Regions from separate parts of the Homo sapiens genome. Here region 1 is linked to region 2. The links are contacts of gene promoters, found by promoter capture Hi-C in blood cells and fetal thymus (Javierre and others, 2016). All regions are on one chromosome and are shown on one strand. Each heading gives the region's core, a stretch centred on a gene start or on the middle of the fragment in contact. The rest is flanking DNA. Distances are from core to core; before and after follow the strand shown. Region 1 overlaps SFPQ (splicing factor proline and glutamine rich). Region 2 holds the start of ZMYM6 (zinc finger MYM-type containing 6).

Region 1 (6,447 bases), core at 3,739-6,238, 150 kb after region 2:
GTAAACCACTTTCCAGTTACAGAGCAGAAACATTATACATGAAAACTGTCTCTCATGCATGCTAGCTAAAACCAGTTCAGAGACCAAGAAGTTGAAGTGAGGTCTGGAACAACAGTTGATGCAAAGTCCTAAGCAACAAAAGTTGTGCTTTTGAAGACTTAGGTTTTCTTGTAAACATTTTGGACTATAACATCACATCCCTAAAGCTAAGGGAACCAAATTCAAAAAGCTACTCTGAACATATGCAGTCATCCTACAGAAACGACGATGTCTTATGATTGGGAATGATTCCCAACATGTATTCGACTGTAGTCAAGTCAATGTTCCACACCACCTTCCCCCAGGTTTAGAGTATAGACACATTTAGACAAGTCCCATAACTTGAACTATTCACATTAGATTCCCATCTAAGCCCAAGTTAGTAACAATGGTGTTTTCATGAAGCCCATGTTTTTAAAAATTTTAAATCGCATTACAAAAAAACCTGTACTTTTAGTTCAACTCAACTTGTAGAATTACCAAGATTGCATAATGAAATTACTGATATTGCCGATCTATGGGCAGGTCAGTTTGCTACAATAGAGACTAATTATCACATGCTATACGGTCCATGTCAAGGTGCTAAAAGCACCCTAGTTCCCAAGTATAGTTTAGTTCCCTCTCCCCCACACCACTGATGTGTTCCATGTTATCTTCAGTTACAATGCAACTAAAGGAAACCACACAACTGAGTCAGATATACCAAAGAATCAAGTTTGCACTTTTTATCTGAGAACTGCAACAGCACTGAATTCTGCCTGACAAATTACAGCTCTAACCCCACACCCACACAGTTTTGATGTAAGCTAGCTTTACCATACAAGTGTTAGGTGCTGCACTGTAATTTCATTGTCAGAAATGTGATGCCAGAATGCCCACGGAATAAAAGTACATACAAGTCACCAAGTTAGATTATATTGCTTGTTACCTACCTGTATGCAGTCGGCAATGAGAATCTTGGAGCAAGCAGGAATACTACATCCGGGTCCTAATGTCCATTGCCATTTGCGGTACTACGTTCCTCACAGTTACGCACTGCAGAAATGCTGGCTAAATGCAGTTATGTAGCAGGCCACTACTTTAATAGTGCATAATTGCAGTCCAAGAACACCAGAAAACATTCCGCCACAACTTAGTGGCTTGCCCAAGAAAAGCCAAGTATCTAAATTTTAATCTGCCATAATATGCCACTTAAAAATTGCACAGGCGTAACATTACAATTTCCCCATTTTTTAGCTGTTTATATTAGTGGTACAATACATCTATAAAGAGTGGTGGGGTTTGTAGTACTTCTTATGAGTTTAATGTTCTAAGCAAAGAGGATTATGGTTTCACTAACATGAGCCAATGGGCTATGCTTATAAAATACCTATTAAATACACTGGGGTCTTAACAATATGCAGTTTTTAAAGATTAGGAGAAGTATAAAAAACAACCAGTGTTCCTCTTAAAACAAAATTATGAGAAAGTGGAGAAGAGGAAATGGGGACAAGTGGTTTCTTTAAATGAAAAAAATGGCTAAAATACTTCAAAAATTGCTACCTCCCCTTTCCCACCCCAAGTTTCAGATCGACTTTTAGGAAACTATTAAGATTATTTAAATTCACATTAGGCTAAAAACTATCATATATACATTGAAGACTTATTGAAAGTCTATTTGAGTAAGCTTACAACCCTGAGTACATTGCTGTTTTAGTGATGAAAGTCAAATGTCATTTGAAACTAAGCAACATTATTTGCTAAACAACGTTTAGCAACTCTACAGTCCACAGTAAGGGTATCAAAAGCCACAACTTTCAGGAGATTATCCATTAGCATCCTTCACCACTCTTCAAAGGTACAGTACTACCAAAAGCTTATTTTAGGGGGTCTGTGCCAGCATCCCTTATAAAGAAAGGCATGTAATCTGAAAAATAAACTGAAACATTAATTTTATAGGCAGATTTTCCCATTTCCCGACCAGCCCCCACCCACACACATTCAAAGTTCACCCTCTGTGGGTGTCCCATGGAACACCCCTTATTTTCTTGTCTTTAGTAGAGTCCCTACTATATAATTCAACCAAACTGTAATGGATTCCTTTCTAATCAAGACCCTTGTTTCCGTACAGAAAATCTCTTATGTATCACCAATTAATAACCTGTTTGGGGACAAAACTTCCTCACTGATATAATCATGGTAAAACTACTCATATTTCCGAGTGTGCTGGTGAATGATATAATGAGCATTACTTTCTAATGAGATTCTCTCCCTTAGCACACCATGTACCTGTCAGTCATACAACCAGTATTTGGTGAGATGCTTTTATACACTAGTGTTTACTTTCAGCATTATCCTGTTTCCTATGCAGAAAGTGCTCAGATTGTTCCAACAATAGGTCTCCTTTTGTACACAGGCACAATACTAAACTTCAGCATGTTAATAAAGGTTTGACTTAGAATTTTTCTTTTGCCAATTAGCACCAAGAAAAGAGGTGAAAAGGAGGAAGACACATTCCATAGTAAGAATTCTACAATGTACAGATTTGAATGGAACGTAACTCAGAACAAAGCCAAACCATTCAATTACTTTACCTACTGTTAGGAAGCTGTTCCTCTAACATATTTACACTGGGAAATCAGGCTCCCATTATACTAACAGGCAACAATAAACAATCTACTTTAATAGTCAAAGTCTCTTGTTCTAATGGAAGGGGGTTCAATGAAGTTGACAATTAACTGACAACACCATGGAAACATTCCAAGCCTTTATGGTGGGAGGAAGGGATATTTGTACTGTGTAGCATGAGCAACTTTCTCCAGATTTAGTGCTACATGAAAACGAAACTATGTGAAAACAAGTTAAATTTACAATAAGAATGATTATCTGCAACCCTATTTGTTAACAATCACCACTAGCTCTTAGAAGAGAACCAATAGATTTTTATAGTCCTATAGATTTTGCCCAACAGAAGTAGCACAAGGAGATGTAAAAGTTACAGAGTACAAATGTATATATAACTAAACCTACTTCAGTACTAAACCTTTTTTTTTTTTTGAGACAGAGTCTCGCTCTGTTGTCCAGGCTGGAGTGCAGTGGCAGTCTCAGCTCACTGCAACCTCCATCTCCAGGTTCAAGCAATTCTCCTGGCTCAGCCTCCCGAGTAGCTGGGATTACAGGCGCCTGCCACCACGCCCAGCTAATTTTTTGTATTTTTAGTAGAGACGGGGTTTCACCATGTTGGCCAGGCTGGTCTTGAACTCCTGATCTCATGATTTGCCCACCTCAGCCTCCCAAAGTGCTGGGATTACAGGCGTGAGCCACCGCGCCCGGCCCAGTTACTAAACCTTCTTACTTTCAAGTTTTGTTTTTTAGACTACACCCCATCTTTATAAATCACTTGAATACATGAAAAGACTTCATGTTTAACATCTTTAATTCAAATGTAAAAGTTCAATACAAGCCATTTATAGGGCTTGAGATTTGTTGGTCTTTTAAAAACAAGAAATGGGGAAATGCAACAAAATGACCTTTCCACTTTTCAAAAGCTTTCAAGTAAAGGATAGATCATAGGGCCATAAAAGATCCATTTAATCAAACCCACTTTCACCCCCTACCAATTGTCTTACACCCATTCCACAATCTTAATACATATTCCTGAAGATTTACAGTTCAGCTTTGCTTACATAACCATTTAAAAAATACTTAGCACCAGCGTGCTTCCTATATGCCAAACAAATCATCAAACTACTTCAATATGCATTTCTTCTTTTTAAAACAAAGGGGGCAATTATTTGTAGAAAGCAATACTTAGCCTCCAGATGCATTTCCCAGAAATGGCATATGCCATTCAAAGGCCTAGACACTCTCATGCTTTCAATGTGGAATACGTAGCCTAATATGCATAGAAGCATGAATGGCAAAGTTGAAGATCAATATTATAACTATTTTTCTATTTATTTGAAGCACAGTAAAAAAAAAAAAATTGGTACACTTTGGAAATTCAGTGGCACAAGGTACACTGCCATAAACTTGAGGGACATTATACAGTAAAAAAGAAAAAATAAAGAAATAAAAAGGAAAAAAAAATTCTCCTGTTCCAAACACTGCATTACATAATTTTACCTGCCCAAACAGACCATTTACAAATATTAGGTCAATAAACTGCTAACATCCATAAAAAGATAGCTTTCTTACTAAAATGCAAGAATTTAAAAGATTGGTATCTAAACAAAAAAACAAAACAAACTGGAATGAAAGCCTAAATATCACATCTAAAATCGGGGTTTTTTGTTTGGGCCTTCGTACTCTTCTCTCCCTCTACCATATCCTGCTGGAGTTCCAGGCCCCATTCCTCTAGGACCCTGTCCACCCACAGGCCCCGCACCTCCCTGCCCAAAGCGCTCAGTACGCTATTGGAACAGTAATTAACAGTTCATTATAAGTAGTTGATGTCCATGTGTGTTAAGTAAATATTTTAGAAGGTTCCGTAGTCAACGTTCGTCGATACAATCACCAATGAGTCGATCCACAGGTACCGGGAACATAGAAAGGAAAAAAGGGTAATTTGAAAATTAGTTTACGGTAATACATGCCTTGTGGTATGTTCCCACTTGAGCCATTCTCATACACCTGTTTCAAAGAACAGATCTTCCCTGTAGTGCTAAAAAATTTAAGAATTAGTGCAGATGTGAAAATCCATTCCAAAATGAGTTCTAAGAAATTTCACATCAGATTAACCCACTGAAAAACTTGCAAACTCTCACTTTCAACGTCTGAACGGAAATTTAATTTCCAAGTAAGCCTAACAAGCCCAACCAGAGATTCAATTCACTCAATGAAGTGACAAAGACCTACTCACCAGTTAGTGGCATGTGCTGCTTAAGAAACCTTGTGCTTTTCAAGATCTTAAGACACATCTGCTAAGTTGCAGAAATCTTAAAAGGTTGAAAGTTTTAATAAAATGCTACCAGACTACAAAAAGAAAAAGCATAAGACTATAGATTTAGTCACTTAACCGGCACAGTAACTTGATCAAAAAAACTTATGTTGCCAAATTCTCACAGGCACACTACCTTCCGAGCCATCACTATATAACCAGAGACAATTACGTTCTCAGTACTATTCTATATTGTTGCAAACTAAATGAACAAACCCCACCCACCTTCATCAGTCCATCTTTTCCCTTAGGTCTTTGAAAAGTGCAGACACTTTGCTGTAATTCCATGTTTTAGACACTTCCCGAACAGTGAAACACGAAGCTAAAGTAACTGCAATAAAGCAGTGAGTGACTTCACTATTCCCATCTAGTTTTAGGTAATTCTGGAGATAGAAGTTTTCAATAGAAACATATGTGCCTAAATAGCAGACCCCTCAGGTATGCAAACACAGCAGCCTACACTTTTTCTCATTCCATTTATAATAGACCAGTTACTAAGAGTATTACTCCAAATAAAAAACTAAAAGGGCATCAGGGTTTAACTGTTCCTATACACAATTTCAACATTCTTTTAAACAAAATACTATTGAGCTACTCAACATGACTAAACTTTTATCCTTTGTTTTTCAAAATCTTATAAATTACAGGGTTTTTGGCTCATTGTTCTGTGTTCTACCTCTAAGAACTTAAAAAAAAGAAAAAGTTGGGGCTTTCATAATTATGTTAATTACACCAGCTGAGAACCCAGGAGCTATCAGCTACCTGTTATCTAGAATATAAACCTTTAATTGTGAGAACATAAGGTCAAATTAGATTTTACACATTACCTAACAATCTGTCTTTAGGAAGAATATAAACCAAAATGTTACCCACATACTCTGAAAAATCTAAAGAAAGCCCATAGTATTACATTTTACCCAACCAGCCATTTATAATTCTAACTTTAATTCCCAAAAAGTCTTAGGTAGATTATAAACAGGTGAGGCCTTATACAAAATCCTTATGTTTCTATTTATAAAATGAATCTTATGAGCTACTCACTGCAGCTCCCCTCCTTTGCCAAAAGCCTGTAGTGAACTCATCACATTCAACTCAGCTATAAAAATGCACTCTCTAAACCCACCAAAATTCAGTCCTAACGATTTGTAAAGCCCTAATGCAGCCACTCATACCAGTTCAACTGATTGTTCTAAGCATCTGACAGGCTATATTCACAGCTGAAACATGATAGCATCAAGAAGGTTCAGATCAAATGCACACCATTAGTATGCTTAAAAATTGTTGATTTTTGCTACTCTGTAGCAAAATGGAGATGTCAGTTGATTTTAGAAGGTATACCTACAGACAGGCCCAACAGGTGGGAAACGACGAGTCAAAACACTCAATTCCCTTTTCATAGGATAGAAGCCACACCAAATATAGGTCAAAGTCCTACACATCACTAAAACGTGCCTAAAGCTTCAAACTACAAGTCTGATTCCTACTTATGG
Region 2 (6,610 bases), core at 2,342-4,841:
TGTGAAAAATAAAATTGTTTTTTATTATTTTAAAATATAATTGCTTTGCTGATACAATAAAGTCAATAACTTTGAGTGTAAAGCGAAAGAACTGTCCCAGAAGAAAAATTCCTTGCCAAAACAACTAACTCATCTCTCCCATTGATTTTATTTTATTTTTTTTTGAGACGGAGTCTCACTCTGTCACCCAGGCTAGAGTGCAGTGGCGCAATCTTGGCTCACTGCAAGCTCCGCCTCCTGGGTTCACGCCATTCTCCTGCCTCAGCCTCCCAAGTAGCTGGGACTACAGGCGCCCACCACCACGCCCAGCTAATTTTTTGTATTTTTTGTAGAGACGGGGTTTCACCGTGTTAGCCAGGATGGTCTCGATCTCCTGACCTCGTGATCTGCCTGCCTTGGCCTCCCAAAGTGCTAGGATTACAGACGTGAGCCACTGTGCCCAGCCTCCACATTGATTTCCGTGCTCTCCATTCTGGGTCCCTATGGGGTAGCCAGAATGATCTTTCCAAACACAAATCTGTTTCATCTTACTTTCTCACTTAAAACCCTACAATTGGCCAGGTGTGGTGGCTCACGCCTGTAATCCTAGCACTTTGGGAGGCTGAGGTGGGTGGATCACCTGAGGTCAGGAGTTTGAAACCAGCCTAGCCAACATGGTGAAACCCCGTCTCTACTAAAAATACAAAAAATTAGCCAGGCGTGGTGGCAGGCGCCTATAATCCCAGCTACTGGGGAGGCTGAGGCAGGAGAATCACTTGAACCCGGGATGTGAAAGTTGCAGTGAGCCACCAAGATTACAACATTGCAGCAAAACTCCATCTCAAAACAAAAACAAAAAACCCTATAATGGCTATCTACTGCTCTTAGGATAAAAACCAAAATTTATAACAAGGTCTGCTACGTCCTACATAATCCAGCCTTAAACTATATATACAGCCTTATCATAGAGAAGCAGAATAGCACAAGTTCTGGAGTCTGACCACCTGGATTTGAATCCAGTCTTTGTCATTTACTACTAACTGTGATCTGTGGTAAACTATTTGGCTTTTTTGAGCTTTGGTTTCCTCATCTGTAAAATGGGGATAATAATATGGTGGTAAGAATGGTGCCTGACACACTCTTAAGCATATATAAATATTAAGTTAATAATGTCACATATGATTATGATATAATATATACTACATACTGATATACTAATGCCAGCTATTTTTATTGTTGTTGTTTTAATCATTATCATCATCACCATTTTCATACCTTTTCTGTTCCAGGCTCACTGTTCCTGCAGGTCTTAAAAAGAACCATGCATCTTTCCAACTCAGGGCTTTCCTATTCACAGTTCCCTCTGTCTGTAATACTCTTCTCCATACCCTTTGCCTAATCAATTCATTCTTCATAATTCAGCTTACACATCCTTCCCTTAGAGAGGCCTTCCCTAGCCATCCCCAGGCAGACCACAACCAAAACTAGGTCAGATTCCCCATTTTAGGCTTTTCTTCCAGAGTACTTGTCATAGTTTGTAATTATATATATTACTTGACCAATACTTTTGTAATCTCTGCCTCCTCTACTAACATATAAGCTCTACAAGGGAAGGGACTAAGCTGACTTTGCTCAATCCTGGATCCCCAGAGACTAGCACAGACCACAAATTCTTAACAGAATAAAGGAAAGTACTACCAGATACAAGAGAATTTTTTTTAAGTGACAAGTATGGAAAAATGGTAAATATATTACTTTCCTTCCACACACAAAAAAATCATGTAGTTATAGCTTTCATTCAAAGAGCAAAAAACCAGCCAGGAATGGTGGCTCATGCCTGTAATCCCAGAACTTTGGGAGGCCAAGGTGGGTGGATTGCTTGAGCTCAGGAGTTTGAGACCAGCCTGGGAAACATGGCCAAACCCCGTCTCTACCAAAAATACAAAAAAATAGTTGAGCATGTTGGTGTGTGCCCTGTGGTCCCAGCTACACAGGAGGCTGAGGTGGGAAGATCACTTGAGCCTGGGAGGTGGAGGCTGCAGTGAGCTAAGGAGATCGCACCACTGCACTACACCCTCAGCGACAGCGAGAGCCTGTCTCAGTTTGGGTTATTTTAAACTTACAAACCAGAAGCCGTTTAACTAAAATTTTTCAGTTGACCAGATGGAAAAGAAGGAATTTTTTTAAATTTTTAAATGAAGATGAAATGCTTACTTGAGCATTGTCTGGTTCTTCTTTAATTTTGTCCAGAAGCTCCTGCTGTGGTACCACTGCTTTGCCACATTCACCATCCAAAGGTTCTTTCATTCTAATTTTTTACCTCAAAGAGTGTCTCAGGCTCAAACGAATAGATTTCTTCTTGGTAATGGATAGTTGGACACCTAAAATACATACTCAGGCTTATTCTTTTTTCTTCAGGCTTATCTATATGAAAGAAAAACTTTGTGTTGAGTGCATGAGGCTTCACGGCTCGGCATTTGAAAAACAACTCTTCTGGGGCCACAACTAACTTTTTTCTTTCTTCCTGCTTTCTGTTCCTTCAGTAGCTACATAAGAAAACAGTTTTGGGGCAACAGCTCCCACTTCTCTAATATCTTTAAAGACACACAACACACTCTGGTTTTTTCCTATGTTGAAGGTTATTGAAGGGAATTAGACCAGCAGACCAAGACGTGGGAGGAAGTAATAAACTCTGAGAAGAACGGACTCAAGAAATAGTTTCTGACCCCATAAGAATCAGTACTTAGAGGCCCACGTCGGCTTTTATTTCTCAAAGAGGGGCACAACAACCTCCCGGCCCTGACCTATAACTCAACCTTCACTGGAAGCCTCCCTAAGGGCCCCATTTCTCGGCCTAACGCTAGATGTGAGCTCAAGATGCCATCCATCGCAGGCGAACAACAGGAACGCCCTTACTGAAAGTGAGTCACCTGCCTCTTTCAAGGTCTCCGTGTGAGGGGTGGGGGGCATCAAGCCCCTCAGAGCCCCGCTTCACAATCGCCTTCCTGTAGAAAAGAAACTCAATTGGCCATTCAGTAAATTCCCTTCCCCTAAAAGTCAAAGAACTAAACGGGACGAATTAAACCTAAAACAAAAAGCTCTTCAAAGTTGTCTTTATCCGAATAGTCCGGGATGGAAACGGACAACTGGTTGAAAAGCCTGTTCCAAAGAAGAAATGAGAACTTTTGCGCACTCGCCACAAAATATCTACGGGCGCTCATCCCTCCTCTGAGAACCGCACGCTTTCCGAAATTCTCCTTCCCACCAAGAATTCCCACTCCCATCATTGAGGACTAACGAGGCAATGTGGTCTCCGACTGAGAGCGGTGGACTAGCCAGTGAATGTCAACGCGTCCCTAAGGCGATATCCGCAGCCGCCCCAGCCGCGTAGCCCACCTGGCACCGCCCCCGCCGCAACGCCTCGTCACGTGGTGTGGCCTCCGCCCCGCCGTCCCGCCCACTACCACTGCGGCCGCACCCACCTTCTGTCGCCTCCCTGCTACCGGAGGAGCACTGGAATAGGAACCAAGTCCTCTGCATCTAGACAGGGATTATTTTCTCTTCTGGAATTCCGCCTGATCCATCCCAACGCAACGACCGGCCAACCACGCCTGCGCAGCCTTGGTCTCCGCCCTCTTTTCCCGTCAGGCTCCGGACCTGAGCTGAGTAGAACTTCCCAGCATTCCTCTTTCCTCAATTATGGTTCACTTCTTAAAGAGACCGAGGCTCAATAGTGAAAAGGTGGAGATGGCGTTAGAAGGCGCTGTAAGTGCTCTATAGCATTCTTTTTTTTTTTTTTTTTTTTTTTTTTTTTTTTTTTTTTTTTTGGAGACAGAGTATCACTGTGTTGCCCAGGCTGGGGTGCAGTGGCACAATCTCGGCTAACTGCAACCTCCGCCTCCTGGGTTGAAGCGATTCTCCTGCCTCAGCCTCCCGAGTAGCTGGGCTTACAGGCACGTGCCACCACACCTAGCTAATCTGTAGCATCCTTTAGTGCCCATTTCCTGAAAGGTGGCCTACTGAGAGAGCATGATATTAAATAATACTTGGCTTGCTGAGCACTTCACATGCACCATCCCACTTAATCCTCACCATTTAACCCTAAGAGGTATAATTTTTTAATCTCTTGAGATATAAATGAAAAAACTTGCTCAAAATTGAGATTTGGTTTTTTTAATTCAACATTGTTTCACAGATACGTGTATGATTTGTGACTGTTCATTCATTTTGACTGCTGTATAGTATTCTATTTTATGAATATGATACAATTTTAATCATCTACTACTGATGGACATTTGAGTTGTTTCCAATTTGTGGCTATTAGGAATAATGCTTCTGTGAACATTCTTGTCATTGGTGATGTTAAAAGACAAAATTACAACAAATTTAATTTAAATATCTCAATTAGCTTTATTTGTGATTCTAGAATCTGGCAGCACTTCATTCCATAAAATAGAACAAGTGTTCCAATGAGCTGAGCAGAAGAGGTAGGTTTTATAGACAGAGAAGGGCTGGAGAAAGCAGAAGTAAAGAACAAAAAACAGATTGGTTCATTTCAAAGTAACTTTCCAAAAAATAAATAAATAAGTTAATTTCCTTGTAAAGCAGAACCAAGAAACAAAACAATAGAGAAATAACTGATTGGTTAACATCAGGTAACTTCAGTTTATCTTTTTTTGGTAACGATTAAAGCAGAAGAAATTTCATTATTATGCTAATTGAAACTGGCACTCAGGGGAAATTAGACTCTTATTATCTCTTTTTCCTGACTTTTCAGAACTTCAAATAACAACGTAGTTTCCATTTGATGACATGGAACCTCAGTGTGAGTGACTCCATTTTGATTTTTAGTCTGGTTCATTGAGACCTACTGCAGGAGCTTAGCCCGAAACAATGGCCTACAAGTTTTATTTAACAGTGATACATATGCACACATTTCTGTTGGGTTCATACCTAAAAGTGAAATTGCTTGTTATGTATATGTAAAATTTAGGTAGATAATCTCAGGCAATTTTAGAAAATGGTGGTTTCAGTTTATACTCCCTTCAGCCATGTATGAGAGTTTCAGTTTCCCAACATCCTTGCCAATAATTACTGCTGCATATCTTTTTAATTATAACCATTCTGATGGGGGCATAGTGGTATCTCACTGTGGTTTTAATTTGCATTTCCCAGATTATTAATGAGGATGAGCCCATTTTCTTGTTCCTTGGGTATCTGGATATCCCCCATAAGTGCCTGTTCAAGTCTCTTGCTCATTTTTGTATTGGATTGACATTTTCTTATGGGCATATATTTTAGATATGAATCCTGCTATGGTTTGAATGTATGTGTCCCTTCAAAATTCATATATTGGAACTTAAACATTAAGGCGATGGTATAAGAAGTGGAGCCTTTGGGAGGGGTTAGGCTATGAGGACTCCATCCTCATGAATGGGATTCATGCCCTTACAAAAGAGGGCATTCATGCCCTTCACAAAGATTCATTCCTTTTGCCCTTTTAACCCCTCACTGTATGATAACAATGTTCCTCCCAGCAAGAGGACAACAACAAAGTTTCATCTTGGAATTAGAGAGTAATTCCAAGACAACAAATCTGCCAGTGCCTTGATCTTGGACTTGCCAACCTCCAGAACTGTGAGAAATAAATTTCTACTATTTATAAATTACACAGTCTGTGGCATTTTCTTTTGGCAATCAGGAATACACTAAGATAAGTCTTTTTTGAATATACACTAGCCCCCCTCATCCACGGTTTTGCTTTCTGAAGTCGTAGTTACCCACACTCAACCACGGTCTGAAAATATTAAATGGAAAATTCCAGTAACAAATAATTCATAAGTTTTAAACAACTTTCATTAAAGTCTATTGTTATAATTGTTCTATTGTTAGTTGTTAGTCTCTTTCTGTGCCTGATTTATAAATTAAACTTTATCATAGGTATGTATGTATAGGAAAAAACATAGCATATATAGGGTTTGATACTACTGGAGGTTTCAGGCATCTGTGGAACATCTTCGAACATATCCTCATGGATAAGGGAGGGACTACTGTATATATTGCAAATATCTTCTCCCACTCGGTAGCTTGCCTTTTCACTCTGTTATTGGTGTCTTTTGATGAACTTAAAAGACCTTTGTGGCCGGGTACAGTGGCTCATGCCTATAATAGCAGCACTTTGGGAGGCTGAGGCGGGCGGAACTCTTGAGGCCAGGGGTTTGAGACCAGCCTGGCCAACATGAGGAAACCCTGTCTCTACTAAAAATACAAAAATTAGCTGGGCATGGTGGGCACCTGTAATCCTAGCTACTAGGGAGGCTGAGGCAGGGGAATCACTTGAACCCCAGAGGCAGGGGTTGCAGTGAGCCAAGATCGCACCACTGCACTGCAGCCTGGGTGGCAGAGCAAGACTCTGCCTCAGGAAAAAAAAAAAAAATTAGCCGGGTATGGTGGTGTGCACTTATAGTCCCAGCTGCTCGGGAGGCTGAAGCAGGAGAATCACGTGAACCAGGAAGCGAAGGTTGCAATGAGCTGAGGTCATGCCACTGCACTCCAGCCTGGGTGACAGAGCAAGACTCCATCCAAAAAACAAACAAACAACAACAACAAAAAAACCCTTTGTGCTTAGTGC

Evidence for each region. The method cuts DNA at HindIII sites, captures the fragments that hold promoters and counts their contacts. A CHiCAGO score of 5 or more calls a contact.
Region 1: a contact is called between a fragment that was not itself captured here and the fragment with the promoter of ZMYM6 in region 2, in 1 of 17 cell types (M2 macrophages). The highest score is 6.3, in M2 macrophages.

What each region holds. Positions count from the first base shown.
Region 1 is chr1:35,180,164-35,186,610 of GRCh38, forward strand. SFPQ (splicing factor proline and glutamine rich) reads right to left here. Exons shown (of 10, transcript NM_005066.3): 10 at 2,773-4,430. The coding sequence ends at 4,293. Among named protein-coding and RNA genes, the nearest start is that of SFPQ, 9.8 kb to the right of the region's middle. The HindIII fragment of the contact is 2,849 bases long and covers 3,565-6,413 here.
Region 2 is chr1:35,028,354-35,034,963 of GRCh38, forward strand. It overlaps ZMYM6 (zinc finger MYM-type containing 6), which reads right to left and starts at 3,592. Exons shown (of 16, transcript NM_007167.4): 1 at 3,462-3,592; 2 at 2,194-2,360. The coding sequence starts at 2,286. LOC124903990 (a long non-coding RNA gene) reads left to right here and starts at 4,367. Exons shown (of 2, transcript XR_007065739.1): 1 at 4,367-4,804. RefSeq lists enhancers at 2,894-3,420, 3,421-3,945, 3,602-3,781 and a silencer at 3,312-3,431. The HindIII fragment of the contact is 24,078 bases long and covers 1-6,610 here.